Regions from separate parts of the Homo sapiens genome. Here region 1 is linked to region 2. Evidence: promoter capture Hi-C in human tissues and cell types (Jung and others, 2019). All regions are on one chromosome and are shown on one strand. The core of a region is centred on a gene start or on the middle of the fragment in contact, and the rest is flanking DNA. Distances in the headings are between cores, read along the strand shown.

Region 1 (2,700 bases), core at 122-2,621, 63 kb before region 2:
AATGGTTGAACTAATTTACAGTCCCACCAACAGTGGAAAAGTGTTCCTATTTCCCCACATCCTCTCCAGCATCTGTTGTTTCCTGACTTTTTAATGATCGCCATTCTAACTGGTGTGAGATGGTATCTCATTGTGGTTTTGATTTGCATTTCTCTGATGACTGTGATGATGAGCATTTATTCATGTGTCGGCTGCAGAAATGTCTTCTTTTGAGAAGTGTCTTTTCATATCCTTTGCCCACTTTTTGATGGGGTTTTTTTTTTCTTGTAAATTTGCTTAAGTTCTTTGTAGATTCTGGATATTAGCCCTTTGTCAGATGGGTAGATTACAAAAATTTTCTCCCATTTTGTAGGTTGCCTGTTCACTCTGATGGTAGTTTCTTTTGCTGTGCAGAAGCTCTTTAGTTTAATTATATCCCATTTGTCTATTTTGCCTTTTGTTGCCATTGCTTTTGGTGTTTTAGTCATGAAGTCCTTGCGCATGCCTATGTCCTGAATGGTATTGCCTAGGTTTTCTTCTAGGGTTTTAATGGTTTTAGGTCTAACATTTAAGTCTTTAATCCATCTTGAATTAATTTTTGTATAAGGTGTAAGGAAGGGATCCAGTTTCAGCTTTCTACATGTGGCTAAGCCTGTTTTCCCAGCACCATTTATTAAATAGGGAATCCTTTCCCCATTTCTTGTTTTTATCAGGTTTGTCAAAAATCAGATGGTTGTAGATGTGTGGTGTTATTTCTGAGGCCTCTGTTCTGTTCCATTGGTCTATATATCTGTTTTGGAACCAGTACCATGATGTTTTGGTTACTGTAGCCTTGTAGTATAGTTTGAAGTCAAGTAGCATGATGCCTCCAGCTTTGTTCTTTTTGCTTAGGATTGCCTTGGCAATGCGGGCTCTTTTTTGGTTCCATATGAACTTTAAAGTAGTTTTTTCCAATTCTGTGAAGAAAGTCATTGGTAGCTTGATGGGAATGGCATTAAGTCTATAAATTACCTTGGGCAGTATGGCCATTTTCATGATATTCTTCCTATCCATGATCATGGAATGTTCTTCCATTTGCTTGTGTCCTCTTTTATTTCCTTGAGCAGTGGTTTTTAGTTCTCCTTGAAGAGGTCCTTCACATCCCTTGTAAGTTGGATTCCTAGGTATTTTATTCTCTTTGAAGCAATTGTGAATGGGAGTTCACTCATGATTTGGCTCTCTGTTTGTCTGTTATTGGTATATAGGAATGCTTGTGACTTTTGCACATTGATTTTGTATCCTGAGACTTTGCTGAAGTTGCTTATCATCTTAAGGAGATTTTGGGCTGAGACAAGGGGTTTTCTATATATACAATCATGTCATCTGCAAACAGGGACAATTTGACTTCCTCTTTTCGTAATTGAATACCCCTTATTTCTTTCTCTTGTCTGATTGCCCTGGCCAGAACTTCCAACACTATGTTGAATAGGAGTGGTGAGAGAGGTCATCCCTGTCCTGTGCCAGTTTTCAAAGGAAATGCTTCCAGTTTTTGCCCATTCAAAATGACATTGGCATGGGTTTGTCATAAATAGCTCTTATTATTTTGAGATACGTTCCATCAGTACTTAGTTTATTGAGAGTTTTTAGTACAAAGGGCTGTTGAATTTTGTCAAAGGCCTTTTCTGCATCTGTTGAGATAATCATGTGGTTTTTGTCTTTGGTTCTGTTTATGCGATGGATTATGTTTATTGATTTGTGTATGTTGAACCAGCCTTGCATCCCAGGATGAAGCAGGCTTGATTATGGTGGATAAGCTTTTTGATGTGCTGCTGGATTCATTTTGCCAGTATTTTATTGAGGATTTTTGCATCGACGCTCACCAGGGATATTGGTCTAAAATTCTCTTTTTTTGTTGTGTCTCTGCCAGGCTTTGGTATCAGGATGATGTTGGCCTCATAAAATGAGTTAGGGAGGAGTCCCTCTTTTTCTATTGATTGGAATGGTTTCAGAAGGAATGGTACCAGCTCCTCTTTGTACCTCTGGTAGAATTTGGCTGTAAATCCATCTGGCCCTGGACTTTTTTTGGTTGGTAGGCTATTAATTATTGCCTCAATTTCAGAGCCTGTTATTGGTCTATTCAGAGATTTAACTTTTTCCTGGTTTAGTCTTGGGAGGGTGTATGTGTCCAGGAATTTATCCATTTCTTTTAGATTTTCTAGTTTATTTGCGTAGAGGAATTTATAGTATTCTCTGATGGTAGTTTGTATTTCTGTGGGATCGGTGTTGATATCCCCTTTATCATTTTTTATTGCACCTGTTTGATTCCTCTCTCTTTTTTTCTTTATTAGTCTTGCTAGCGGTCTATCAATTTTGTTGATTCTTTCAAAAAACCAGCTCCTGGATTCATTGATTTTTTGAAGGGTTTTTTGTGTCTCTATCTCCTTCAGTTCTGCTCTGATCTTAGTGATTTCTTGCCTTCTGCTAGCTTTTGAATGTGTTTGCTCTTGCTTCCCTAGTTCGTTTAATTGTGATGTTAAGATGTTGATTTTAGATCTTTCCTGCTTTCTCTTGTGGGCATTTAGTGCTATAAATTTCCCTCCACACACTGCTTTAAATGTGTCCGAGAGATTCTTGTACATTGTGTCTTTGTTCTCATTGGTTTCAAAGAACATCTTTATTTCTGCCTTCATTTCGTTATTTACCCAGTAGTTATTCAGGAGCAGGTTGTTCAGTTTCCATGTA
Region 2 (2,700 bases), core at 64-2,563:
GCCCTATTTGCAGGTGAGGGGCTGACCTGAGAGTCGCCCCAGGTAGTGGCTCTGTCCCATCTTTCTGAGTTGGCCATGCTGGCCTCTGGCACTGCAGTGCCTTGTTCTCTACTATGTAGGGAGACTGAGGCCACAAGATGAAGGTTGGGTCCAACTCTGTGTTATGGAGGGACCTGAGGTAGAGACCAGACCCAGGCTCCTCTGGGATTTCCCACTCCCCTGGCTCCCACCTCCCCAGAACTGGCCTTGGCCTCACCTTCCCCCTGACCTGGTGGCTCCCCTTCCTCCACCGACTTCTGCCTTGTCCATCTCAAGGCTTTGGCCCTCCGTTTCCCACGGATTCTTTCTGAGCTGCTGGTCACAGCTGGTGATGGCCATGAGCTGCTGTTTTCTTGCTCTAGGAAGCTCATCTCTGGAAGGGGAATGGGGCCTGTTTGGTTAATAGGGAGTAATGCATCAAAATCAATTCAAATGTTATTCATAATCTTTAGGATTTGCAAGCTTCCAATGGGCTTTTCTCCAACATATTTCTCATTTAAAACTTACAGCAGCCTTATAAAGCAGGCATTATTATCATCCCTATTTTGCTAGTGAGGGACCAGAAATTCAGAGAGGTTAAGCAATTTGCTGCAAATCACACAGCAAGTAAGTGGGAAAGTCACTTCTGAAAAGAGGAAATTGGAGGTGAGGGAAACACACCTGGGGAAAGGAGGAAGAACAATGAGGAAGAAAGACCAAAAGGAGGAAGATAAAAGCCAGGCTGGGAGGGAATTGGGGTCCCAGAAAAGTGGGGGACAAGGAGGTGGGGGAAGAGGTTAGGCCCCAGGGAGGGGGCATTCTCCCTACCTTGATGCTCAGAACCCCCAAGGCTGCTCCAGGAAGGGGTCTGTGGGGAGAAGAGTTTCTGAAGGAGTGGGGAAAGTGCCTTACATTCCCAAACCCCTTCTCCCTGAACACACGCCTACACACCCATGCACACCAATACACACGCTCAGACACACGCCATACACAGACATGCAGCCATACACAAACACACACAGAAACACACACATCCAAACACTCCCAGGCACACAGAACCACACACACTCACAATACATATGCCCAAACATGCACATGCCCATATTCACGAGAAAATCCAGACCAAACACACACCAGAAGACACACACGCCCACACACACATTCACAGCCCGTGCGCTCAATCTTCTGGCCTCAGCTGCCCCGGCTCCGGCTCCCCTGGGACCCCCATACCCTGCGCAGTGCGTGCTCCAGCCCGGGCTCCATGTGGCCAGCCCCAGACCAACTGAGAGCAAGTGTGCGACACTGTGGCTGGGCTGCACTATTCTGGGCCCGGCCCCGGGCACCCTGCCCTGCCAGGATCGGTTTCTCTCTGATTGGGTGTCAGGCAATGAGAGGGAGGGGCCCCCATTTGCTCAGCTGCTACAGCCCTGAAGGCTGGGGGTTGCTGGGAGGGAAGGGGCGCACCGGATAATCTGGGTACTTGGTCCTCAGCTGCCTCCTGGGTCACTGAGGACAAGCTAGAGGGACCCTTTTTGAGGGGATGTGGCTTGGAGCATGTGGGAACATGGTCATTGAGCAGAGTTGGGCTCTCAGAGTCCTGAGCCCCTATTCCAAGAGCCTCCCTCATCTTTATCAGGCACCAAAGAAGGGAACATGGAGGCAGATCAGCATAACTTTCTTCCTTGTTCTAATTTCAGTAGAGGGTGGTGCTGGAGTTAGAAAGGGCAAGTTGCAGCCAGCTCAGAGGCTGGAGATGAGGCAAGGGGTTTGTGGGTAGTCCAGGAGAGCAGCTAGTGTATGTCCAGATGTCCAGATTTGAGTCCCTGGAGTGTGTCCCTCTCTCAGGTGAAGGAGATGGAGTGGGTGTTTCAGGCAGGTGAAGAGCTGTGAGAATCACCTCGAAGGCGTGGGGAGCACTCAGAGCTCCCCGCAGGGGAAGAGACATCTGTTTCCACCTGTGGTTGGGAGATATGCCTGGGTGTGCAGGTGTCCCAGCCCCCAACCCTCTGTGAGTGCTGTGCCTACATCCCTGGTGCCAACAGGATCCCAGCCTGGCTCCAGTAGCTGCCACCCTCTTCCTTGGCATTCCCGGAGCCTGAGTCAATGTCCGGATTGGGAATGCTGACCCAGCTGCTCCGGCTTTCCTCTCTCTGCCCCTCCCTTTCTCTCCTCCTTCCAGCCTCTTCCATCCCAGCCCTGGCCCTGGAGTGGACACTCAACAACAGACTGGTGAATTTCTGTCTGAGTTTATTACATGTGTTTTCCATCAACCCTCAATGTTCCTACTCTGCCAATGGGGAGGGTGGAGGAGAATGGAGTTGGGAGGACAGCCTTGGCCAGGGCTGTTCCTGTGGTCCCCAGCCTTTCTCAAGGACATCTGCTCACTGGACAGTGGGAACTGGCTCAGAGGACAGAGATCAGTGTAAGAGAATTTCCTTCACACCAAGCATGTTTTTTCAAATGGACTCAAGATAGCCACCACCAGTTTGAGAGAAAGGAGAGTAGGAAGAACACCAAGTCCAGAGTGTTCAAGCATAAAAATAAGGTCTACATGAGGCCATTGGCTGTGGTTACTCAAACATGGAGCCACTCAGAAGGCTTCTAAGATTGTGAGGGTGTTGTATTGGCAAAGAAACCATAAGCCTGATCAGCAAAGCCTGGTTTGACACCCCTTCCCTTGCC

Evidence for each region. The method cuts DNA at HindIII sites, captures the fragments that hold promoters and counts their contacts. A contact is called where the count stands out against the background at its distance.
Region 1: a fragment that was not itself captured here is called in contact with the fragment with the promoter of PRKAG3 in region 2 in 3 of the 25 tissues and cell types used here (H1 embryonic stem cells, aorta and bladder).

What each region holds. Positions count from the first base shown.
Region 1 is chr2:218,767,259-218,769,958 of GRCh38, forward strand. No RefSeq gene overlaps it. Among named protein-coding and RNA genes, the nearest start is that of CYP27A1, 14 kb to the right of the region's middle. The HindIII fragment of the contact is 7,453 bases long and covers 1-2,700 here.
Region 2 is chr2:218,830,490-218,833,189 of GRCh38, forward strand. PRKAG3 (protein kinase AMP-activated non-catalytic subunit gamma 3) reads right to left here and starts at 1,314. Exons shown (of 14, transcript NM_017431.4): 1 at 1,249-1,314; 2 at 847-886; 3 at 257-412. The coding sequence starts at 1,281. The HindIII fragment of the contact is 8,490 bases long and covers 1-2,700 here.